3 separate regions of the Homo sapiens genome follow, and regions 1 and 2 are each linked to region 3. Evidence: promoter capture Hi-C in human tissues and cell types (Jung and others, 2019). All regions are on one chromosome and are shown on one strand. Each heading gives the region's core, a stretch centred on a gene start or on the middle of the fragment in contact. The rest is flanking DNA. Distances are from core to core; before and after follow the strand shown. Region 1 overlaps BICRAL (BICRA like chromatin remodeling complex associated protein). Region 2 overlaps CNPY3-GNMT (CNPY3-GNMT readthrough). Region 3 holds the start of DNPH1 (2'-deoxynucleoside 5'-phosphate N-hydrolase 1).

What was found. The method cuts DNA at HindIII sites, captures the fragments that hold promoters and counts their contacts. A contact is called where the count stands out against the background at its distance.
Region 1: a contact is called between a fragment that was not itself captured here and the fragment with the promoter of DNPH1 in region 3, in 1 of the 25 tissues and cell types used here (adrenal gland).
Region 2: a contact is called between a fragment that was not itself captured here and the fragment with the promoter of DNPH1 in region 3, in 2 of the 25 tissues and cell types used here (mesenchymal stem cells and mesendoderm cells).

What each region holds. Positions count from the first base shown.
Region 1 is chr6:42,784,949-42,788,350 of GRCh38, forward strand. All of the region lies in intron 1 of BICRAL (BICRA like chromatin remodeling complex associated protein), which reads left to right. LOC401261 (a long non-coding RNA gene) reads left to right here. Exons shown (of 2, transcript NR_134654.1): 1 at 1-383. Among named protein-coding and RNA genes, the nearest start is that of BICRAL, 4.6 kb to the left of the region's middle. The HindIII fragment of the contact is 4,014 bases long and covers 1-3,402 here.
Region 2 is chr6:42,951,786-42,955,199 of GRCh38, forward strand. The region is part of intron 1 of CNPY3-GNMT (CNPY3-GNMT readthrough); the gene reads left to right. Among named protein-coding and RNA genes, the nearest start is that of GNMT, 7.3 kb to the right of the region's middle. The HindIII fragment of the contact is 5,528 bases long and covers 1-3,414 here.
Region 3 is chr6:43,227,860-43,231,269 of GRCh38, forward strand. It overlaps DNPH1 (2'-deoxynucleoside 5'-phosphate N-hydrolase 1), which reads right to left and starts at 1,622. Exons shown (of 4, transcript NM_006443.3): 1 at 1,402-1,622. The coding sequence starts at 1,597. RefSeq lists silencers at 1,231-1,420, 1,481-1,920 and an enhancer at 1,404-1,903. The HindIII fragment of the contact is 36,780 bases long and covers 1-3,410 here.

The DNA.
Region 1 (3,402 bases), core at 474-2,973, 440 kb before region 3:
TTTGGACTGTCTTGTACTATGCTATGCACTGTTCTGCTCTTTTTTGAATTGGAACATGAGAATTGAGGTCCATGTAATTTTGAGTTTCAGTAGTTTTTTGCTCACATTAGTCTCATTTTTGTTTTTCCTCTTGTAGCTGCCATTTATCAAATCGAAATTATTTCCTCAGAGAAAAAGGTTTAGGTATCCTAAGACTTTAAAATCTCAGTACGTTTTTTTTTAAAGTATGTTGTCTCATTCTATTGAGAAGTTATACAACATACAGGCTTCTAGGTCTAGCCAGGCCATCTAGTTTAGTCAAGACAGCTGTGTAACAAACGTAGCCTTGAGGCCTGGCACGGTGGCTCATGCCTGTAATCCCAGCACTTTTGAGGCTGAGGCGGGCGGATTACCTGAAGTCAGGAGTTAGAGACCAGCCTGTCCAACGTGGTGAAACCCCGTCTGTACTAAAAATACAAAAAAGCTAGCCGAGTGTGGTGGCAGGTGCCTGTAATCCCAGCTACTTGGGAGGCTGAGGCGAGAGAATCACTTGAACTGGGGAGGCAGAGGTTGCAGTGGCCCGAGACCCCACCATTGCACTCCAGTCCGGGAAACAAGAACGAAACTCCCATCTCAAAAAAAAAAAAAAGAATTGAATCCAGGATTGATCCAGAAATTGAGAATAGGGTAGAAAAGACCCTGATATAAAGACCTGAAGATAAATCCTTAAAAGAAAAGGTTGTTTCCTGAATTTTGAATTGTGGACATATCTTCTGGGTTTTGGGAAGTAGGATAGTCAAGTTATGTGGAACCTAATAGCAGAATATGGATAAAAACACAGGTCAGGGCCAGGCACAGTGGCTCACACCTGTAATCCCAGCACTTCGGGAGGCCGAGGTGGGCGGATCACGAGGTCAGGAGTTCGAGACCAGCCTGACCAACGTGGTGAAACCCCGTTTCTACTAAAAATACAAAAATTAGCCGGGCTTGGTGGGCACATGCCTGTAATCTCAGCTACTCAGGAGGCTGAGACAGGAGAATGGTTTGAACCTGGGAGACGGAGGTTGTAGTGAGCTGAGATCGCGCCACTGCACTCCAGCCTGGAGACAAAAAACACAGGTCAGGAAGAAGCATCTAGAGCAGGTGATGAATAGATGACCTTACTAAAATGAGAAAGAACCAAGTCAGTGATGAAATCATTAATTTCTCTGGATTAAGGATCATGGATTTTATTTTGTGCTTTCTCTTGTTGATTCTTCTCAAATCGTTGTGTTTAGTAATTGCTAGGGAGAGTAGTTTAAAACTTAGATTTTTGATGCAGATGTCAGAATTATACCATCTTTGCATATGTCCACATTGGAAAGTTTTTGTAAGGAGCATTTGTTGGATACCTCTGTGCAGTCTGTGTCCAGTCTAGACCACTAGGTGGGTGGAGTGACTTCCAGTTTTTGAAGGGAAGTCACTTCTGGTTTTTCTCCCCTTGTTTTTTATGGTAAATGCCAAAGTAATTATAATCTTTGACTAGACTAAAATCCAATAAAGCTTGAAAGGAGGGGGAAATCTAAAACTGCTTAGAGGGAAACAGTAGCTTCTTTAACCTTGTTGGAATTTTAAGACCGGCAAGATCTCTGCACTCATGAAATTTACAGTATAGTGGGGAAGGACAGAAAATAGTTAAAAAATCAAGATAATGACAGATTAAGAAAAAATATTAAGTGGCTGGTGGATCTAAAAGAGTATGTTGGGAATGACCATTTTGGCTAGTAAGGGTCAAAGAAAGTCTTTTCATAGAGGTGATATTTGAGCTGAGACGTGAAACATGAACTTGTGCTAGCCATGTGAAAAGCTGGGGAGACATTTCAGACCTGGGAACAAGTTCAAAGACCTGGAAGGCTGGTTGTTAGACTGGAGAGAAGGCTCCTCTGAGCAAGGGGAGAAATTATGAATAGGGTAGGAATGAGATGGAGTTGGAGAGATCCTATAGGTCGTCTTGTATTACTCCATAGGGGGATTTTTGGATTTAATTCTAATGGCAATGAGAGGGGTTTTAATTTGGGCAGTGATAATGTTTTTAAAAATAACTGGCTATTTAGAGGAAGAGAGGAAACAGGGAAGTTAGGAGGCTATTGTAGTCAGCCCAAGATCGATAGTATCTCAGGCAAGTAAAGTGGCAATGAGATACAGCAGAGTAGACAGCAACTTTTACATATGTATTTTGGAGGTGGAATCAGAAGGATTTGCTTAATGGGTTGGCTGTGGAGGGAGAGGGAGGAATCAAGGGTGCCTTCAGGTTGCAGGCTCCAGCCTTGGGCTGCTGATGGTACCATTTGCTGGTTGGAGAAGACTGGAGGAGGAACAGGTGGAGAGGAGTGGGTAGCAAGAGTTCTGTGTAAATACTTGGGAGGCATCCAAGCGGAGAGTTAAGTAGGCACTGAATATTTAAGTTGAGCTGAGGGGAGTGATCTAGACTGGACATAAATTTTGGGAGTCACTAGTATACAGATGGCATGTCATGGAACTGATTGAGATTGTTTGTGGCCTTAAGATCAAGCCCTGCGAGACTGGAGTAATAAAACTCTGGTCTCCCACACAGCCAGCTCTGTGTGGGGAAAAAAAAAAGCCCTAAAACACTAACAACGGCTAAAGCTTGGGCAAAGGAGACTGAAAAGGTTCAGCCATTAAAGTGGGAGAGTATTTTATTATTTTCAAGAAAGAGGGAATGGTCACCTCTGTCAAATGCTGCTGAGAAGTTACACAATGAGAATAGAGAAATGTCTATTTGGATTTGACAACATGATGGTGACTGTTTTGACAAGTGGTCCAAGCCACATTGGGATGCTTCGAAGAGAGAATAGGAAGTGAGGTGAATATCGACAGCTCGTTAGGGAAATTTTGCTGCTGTAAAGTGGAGAGAAGCAGCTTAGTGGCTTCAGAGGGAGATGGGGTCAAAGAAGAGGGCTTTTTTTTTTTTTTAATTTTTTTTTAAGACAAGATGTCACTCAGTCATCCAGGTTGGAGTGCAATGGTGCAAATTACGGCTTACCACAGACTCAACCTACTGGGCTCAAGTGATCCTCCTACCTCAGCCTCTCCTGAGTAGCTGGGACCACAGGTGTGCACCACTGTAACCCAACTAATTAAAAAAAAATTTTTTTTATAGAGACAGGGTCTCCCTATGTAAAGAAGAAGGCTTTTCTTTTAAACAATGGGAACTAGATAGGCTAATGAGAATATTTAATAGAGAAGGTGAGACTAATCCAGAAGAGAGACCAAGACTACCAAGGGAGCAGCATTCTTTTTTTTTTTTTTTTTTTTGGAGACAGTTTTGCTCTTGTTGCCCAGGCTGGAGTGCAGTGGCGCAATCTCAGCTCACTGCAACCTCCACCTCTTGGGTTCAAGCAATTCTCCTGCCTCAGCCTCCCA
Region 2 (3,414 bases), core at 425-2,924, 280 kb before region 3:
TTAATGATGTATGCCCTAAGGAGAGGATATTTCCTGTTATAGATGAAGTGTGAATTGGCCTTATGTTACCTGCCTCCAGACCCTATTTTCCTGCCTCATCTGCCCCCTGAGATGTGATCCCCATAAATCTTTATGGGAGGCAGAGGGACAGATGGTCTTTTTTCTGTAACTGCTTCATGCTGGCTTGGGGGATGGTCCCCACCTATTAGGGATCATGGAACTCTCACCCTGCTCTGTCTAGTGGAGGCAGGGTAGCTTTTTGATGGCCAGGGGTGATGTCTTCACCTGGAACTGGCTGGAAGCTTTGTTGCATGATCAGCTGAAGCTTGATGGTCTCTAGGCAAGAGGAAATGAATTTGGTTAAAACATTTAATGGGAACTGCAGGGGGTGGATACCTATGCTGTTAGAAATGTTTGTTATATTGACCAGGCGCAGTGGCTTACGTCTGTAATCCCAGCACTTTGGGAGGCCGAGGCAGGCAGATCACGAGGTCAGGAGTTCAGGATCAGCCTGGCCAACATAGTGAAACCCTGTCTCTACTAAATACAAAAAAATTAGCCGGGCGGGGTGGTGCATGCCTGTAATCCTAGCTACTCAGGAGGCTGAGGCAGGAATGTTGCTTGAACCTGGGAGGTGGAGGTTGCAATAAGCTGAGATTGAGCCACTGCACTCCAGTCTGGGGGCGAGGGAGTGAGACTCCGTCTCAGAAAAAAAAAAAAAGAAAGGTTTGTCATAGAGATTTGCAGGAGAAAAAAAACTTGGTCTGTTTTAGAATCTATGTGTTTCCTTAAAGTCCTAGCATGAGCGACTCCATTTTGGTTTGGTTTGTTGAGGCCTAGTGCATGAGCCTAGTCCAAAACAATGGCCTTCCATAATTTTGTTTAAAAAATTACCCTTTTTGGTTAGGCTGTCATTTAAGTGAGAGTGTGACCAAACCTTAGGGACTTAGCGCCACTCTCAGTTACCATCATTTTGGGTTTCCTATCTCAGCACATCATTTATAGCTTATAGTGTCCTTATGGTTGCACATTTTTTTAGCTCCTGTTATTCCAGTTGAAGAGAGACCATTTGACATTCTAGAGATGGCTGCACGCAAGCATTTAAAACCTTTGAGAGAATAGAGCGCACCAGGGAGACTATTATTATGACTATCGGGAGGATGATACCAAGAGTTTGGAGTATGCTCCTTACCCAGGTTCCCCATAAACCAAACCACCTAAAATCACATAGATCAAAGAATGAACTAGATAAAGAGTTTACTCATGGCCGGGCGTGGTGGCTCATGTCTGTAATCCCAGCACTTTGGGAGGCCGAGATGGGCAGATCACCTGAGGTCGGGAGTTCAAGACCAGCCTGACCAACATGGTGAAACCCCGTCTCTACTAAAAACACAAAATTAGCCAGGCATGGTGGTGCATGCCTGTAGTCCCAGCTACTCGGGAGGCTGAGGCAGGAGAATCGCTTGAACCCGGGAGGCAGAGGTTGCGGTGAGCCGAGATCGTGCCATTGCACTCCAGCCTGGGCAACAAGAGCAAAACTCCGTCTCAAAAAAAAAAAAAAGTTTACTCATTTGACTAAGCAGTCTCTTTGTTAATCCCCTACCACTATATTTCTATAATCTTCATGTGATGTATTTCTCCGTAGGCCACAAGTGCCAGCAGCTGCACAGATACTTCTCTGTTTAGCCAATTCTATCTTAACTTTCACAAGAGAATTTAAAGTCTATTGTATAACTGTAGCCTTTACAGTAGAATTTGCTATAGAACCCATCATGAGGGATACTTTTTTTTTTTTGAGACGAAGTTTCGCTTTTGTTGCCCAGGCTAGAGTGCAATGGCACCATCTTGGCTCACTGCAACCTCTGCCTCCCGGGTTCAAGCGATTCTCATGCCTCAGCCTCCCGAGTAGCTGGGATTACAGGTGCACCACCATGCCCAGCTAATTTTTATGTATATATATATATATATTTTTTTAGTAGAGATGGGGTTTCACCACATTGGCTAGACTGGTCTCAACCTCCTGACTTCAGGTGATCCACCTGCCTCGGCCTCCCAAAGTGCTGGGATTACAGGCATAAGCCACCGTGCCTGGCCCCATTAAAGTTTTTTACCTGCACTGGGCCTTCATTTTTTATCTATTAAAGTATAAAGTTATCCATATATAAGGTTGGCTGCAAACTCCTTCACAAATAAAAGTACATCCCATTAGTGCACATAACAGATGCCTTTTCCACTTTTATTGTTCATAGAGGCATAAGCAAGAACAAATATTGAAAGATAAGAGTTTTATGACAGTAGAAGTCTTAATCTGTGAATTTGGGAAAAGCTTATTTACATCAAAGATGCCATCCTCGGTCAGGCGCAGTGGCTCACGCCTGTGATCCCAGCACTTTGGGAGGCTGAGGCGGGCGGATCACCTGAGATCAGGAGTTAGAAAGCAGCTTGTCCAACATGGTGAAACCCCGTCTCTACTAAAAATATAAAAATTAGCCTGATGTGGTGGCGAGCACCTGTATACTTGGGAGGCTGAGGTAGGAGAATCGCTATTATAAAAAGTAGAGGTTCCTCTTCAAAGACTTTCCTCCCCATCTAATTAGGGATAAATAGTAACTTCTCTTAGAAGCAAAATTTATTCAAAGATCTGTGGTGACATTCTTAAATATCTGCAAGTCATAATAAAGAAATCAATGTCCTTTATGTTCTTAGCTCCCACAATGTAGCCTAAATATTTGCCCTGGCATGCTTATACTGGTCCAAACAAACATTAGGTCATAGCCTGTTCCTCATCCTTATTTGAAGGTGTTTTTACCTTTCTCAGCATTCCACAAGTTACTTCCCCTTCCTTTGTTCTCCTCTGCCTTTGCCTCTTTTAAAAGTTCTAAGTTGCTAGCCAATCGGGACAAATACAAAATGTGAAGTCCCATTCCAGCCAATGGAAACCGGACACAGCAGTAGGGTGGACGCGTCAGGTTATAAATGACCCTGTCTCCTTTGTTCAGTGTACTCTCATGGCAAAACTGCTGACGAGGGTACCCTTTCTGCAGAAAGTAAAAATGGCCTTCCTGAGGAAATTGAATTTATGTTCAAGTGCTATTTCTTTACGGCACTGGGGAACAAGCATTTCTTTTTTAATTTTTTTTATATTTAATATTAAACATTTAATATATTAAGTGAATACATTCAAATCTGCAAACAATACATCTAGGTTGTAGAAGAGTTAAAAAAATCCCTCCACTCAGTTTTTGCCAAAACACCACCTGTAAGCACTGAGAAGCCTACTGATGCACGCATTATCCTTTGGGCCAATAGAAACAAACGTTTTAATAAAATGCTTTCCCAGTGGTCAAATTGTCTTCCTGAGTAAAGCTAAACTTGTTGTAGTGAGAACAGGTAGTGTTTATTTCTAGCTTCTTC
Region 3 (3,410 bases), core at 372-2,871:
CAGGCAGATCACTTGGGCTCAGGAGTTCAAGACCAGCCTGGCCAACATGGCAAAATCCCGTCCCTATAAAAAATACAAAACTTAACCAGGTATGGCGGCACACACCTGTAGTCCCAGCTACTTGGGAGGCTGAGGTGGGAGGATTGCTCAAGCCCGGGAGGCAGAGGTTAGCAGTGAGCTGAGATTTTGCCACTGCACTCCAGCATGGGTAATAGAACAAGACTGTTTCCAAATAAATAACTAAATAAATAGAAAGAGAAAGAAAAACCCAGCAGCCAGGAGCAGAACACAATAATGGCCTGAAAGAGAATATGAGGCCAGCATGGGGGCTCACATCTATAGTCCCAGCACTTCGGGAGGCCTGAGGCGGGAGGATCACTTGAGGCTAGGAGGTCGGGACCAGACTGGGCAACATAGTGAGACTCCCAATCTCTACAGAAAAATTTTGAGCCAGGCATGGTGTCGTGCCCCTGCAGTCCTTGCTAATAGGAGGCTGAGGCTGGAGGATCATGAGTTTAGGAAGCCGAGGCTGCAGTGAGCTATGATCGCACCACTGCACTCCAGCCTGGGCGACAGAGAGGCCCTTGTATCAACAAAACAAAAATGTGAGAGAGGGTAATAGTGAGAACTGGGGTCAGCCAGGTCTAAAAGAGTGCTGATGTCTTCACAGAAAAAGGGGAGGCAGGCCCTGGGCGGTGGCTCCTGTCTGTAATCCCAGCACTTTGGGAGGCCGAGGCGGGCAGATCACCTGAGGTCAGGAGTTCGAAACCAGCCTGACCAATATGGTGAAACACCGTCTCTACTAAAAATACAAAAAGTAGCCGGGTGTGGTGACGCGTGCCTGTAGTCCCAGCTACTCGGGAGGCTGAGGCAAGAGAATCACTTGAACCCGGGAGGTCGAGGTTGCAGTGAGCCGAGATCACGCAACTGCACTCCAGCCTGGGCGACAGAGTGAGATTCCGTTTCAAAAACAAAACAAAACAAAACAAAAAAAGTTGGTGGGGAGGCAGGAGGATACCTTTCGTGTTGGGTGGTGGAAAAGATTCCAGCGGGTGAGGTGGGAACTGAGCCCAAGCAAAGCAGCCCAATCTACCTTCTTTCTGTTGCACCCTACAAACGCTCTGAAAGCAGCTGAAGACAGAGTTCTCCAAGAAGGAACCAAAGGTCAAGATAATGCTGAGTCTGCCTTACACCCGCAGGCTTGCTGGGACCCACGCAGCCCGAGCCCCGGCCCGTTTCCTTCTCGGGCTGGGGCGCTGGATGGAGCACCGGGGTAGGAGGGCGGGCTCCGGGCGCCGGGAGCGCAGCTGCCGGGGGTCGGGGGGGCGGACAGGCCGGGTCCCTGCCACCCCAGCCAGGTCCGCGCCCGCGTCCCCGCGTCCCGCGGCCCCAGGGCCTCACCGCGCGCGCCCAGCTCGGCGGCCGCCACGTGCTCGGTGAGCACTGTCCCGAATCGCCGCAGCCGAGACACGATCCGCTCGTACAGCGTCCTGTCCTCGCGTCCGCCGCGAATGCTCCCGCAGAAGTACAGGGCCGGGCGGCCAGGCTCCCCGCGCTCCCAGCTCTCGCTGCGCCCCGGCACCATGGCAGCAGCCATTCCCCAGCCGCCCGCGCTCTCCGGCGCCAGGGGGCGCCAGCCCGCGGCCACGTGACCCCGCCCGGCCCAGCGCAGAGCCCGGCTGCTGAGTCCACACCTGTGGAATGGGGACGACGAACTGGGAGGATCCAGCCGGGACCCTTTCGGGAACACACCCTTCCTGGACTTGACGTTCGGATGCCTAACACGCACCTTAACTTGACCTTGTCCAGGCAGAACTCGAGGGCTTCCCCACCTCACCCGCTTCTGCTCCCCTCCTCCCCGCCGTCTTCCCCAGCTGCATCCTCCCAGCTGCTCAGGCCCAAGACCCTCGGAGTCATCTGGATCGTTCCCTTTCTCTCAAACTCTGCGTCCCATCCATTGACAACTCGTGTGGATTCGTCCTTCCAAATCTGAAATCTCACGACCGCCTACAGGGCCACCACCCTGGTCTAAGCCTCCTCTGGGCTCTCCACAGCCTCCTAACAGGTGTCCACATGTCGTGAGCTGCTCAAGGTCAGACAGAACCAGGTCCACCCACCTTTGTGTCTGTCCACAAGATCAGGTTTTTACTGATGCTATTTCAATCACAAAAGCTAGGCGTCACACGGAGTTCCCAAGAAGTCAGTTCTCCTTAGGACCACCTGTTCACTCGGTAGTCAGAGCCGCGGGCATGCAAGCTGGAGCCACTCCACAAGTCAGACTGTATTGCAAACCATCCATAGTATTATATGTAAGGATATAAATGTTACAGGTTAAAATTTCACATCAAACACAAGAACATTTAACATCAAGAGAAAAGGGGTTAACGAACCAGTCCAAGGAGAGTGCTGTGGACAGAGTCCCGGCCTGATGGGGATAGTCATCAAGAGCTTGCAAGGAAGAGTCCTTGATTTGGGCAGAGCCTTCAGAGGCAGACACCAGGTGCTGGGCACGAGTGATAGCAAGACTCGGTCTGTTAAGGTGGCCGTGTCTAGCTGCTGAAGTCCTGATCATTTTATGGTCCTTGAGTCCTCTGATGAGGACTTATAGTAAAGGGTGATGCCCTTATCTGGTTGGGTGTTGTCTCCATTGGTTAGGCGAACATCTGGACCCTGTTGGCTTGATGCCTTTTGAAATGTAAGATGAAGTTTTTTAAAACTTTATTTATTTATTTATTTATTATTTTTGGTGACAAGGTCCCTGTCGCCCACACTGGAGTGCAGAGGCACGATCATTGCTCACTGCAGCCTCAAACTCGTGCCTCAAGTTTGAGGGTTCAAGGAATCCTCCCACCTCAGCTTCCTGAGTAGCTAGGACTACAGGCACGTGCCACCATGCTGAGCTAATAAAAAAAAAATTGGCTGGGCTCGGTGGCTCATGTCTGTAATCCCAGCACTTTGGGAGGCCGAGGTGGGCAGATCACGAGGTCAGGAGATCGAGACCATCCTGGCTAACGCGGTGAAACCCCGTCTCTACTAAAAATACAAAAAGTTAGCCAGGCGTGGTGGCACACTCCTGTAGTCCCAGCTACTCCAGAGGCTGAGGCTGGAGAATCGCTTGAACCCGGGAGGCAGAGGTTGCAGTGAGCCAAGATCACGCCACTGCACTCCAGCCTAGGCAACAGAGTGAAACTCCATCTCAAAAAAAAAAAAATTGTAGAGACGAGGTCTCACTATGTTTCCACGGCTGGTCTCAAAACTCCTAGACCCAAGCAATCCCCCTACCTCAGCCTCCCAAAGCGCTGGGATTACAGGCATAAGCGAATGTGCCCAGTGATGGAGTCTTTCTAAGATGGAATTACTTATGTCAAGGGTTCTCTATACACCTCCCCTGGCCCTTCCCTGCTACAGTT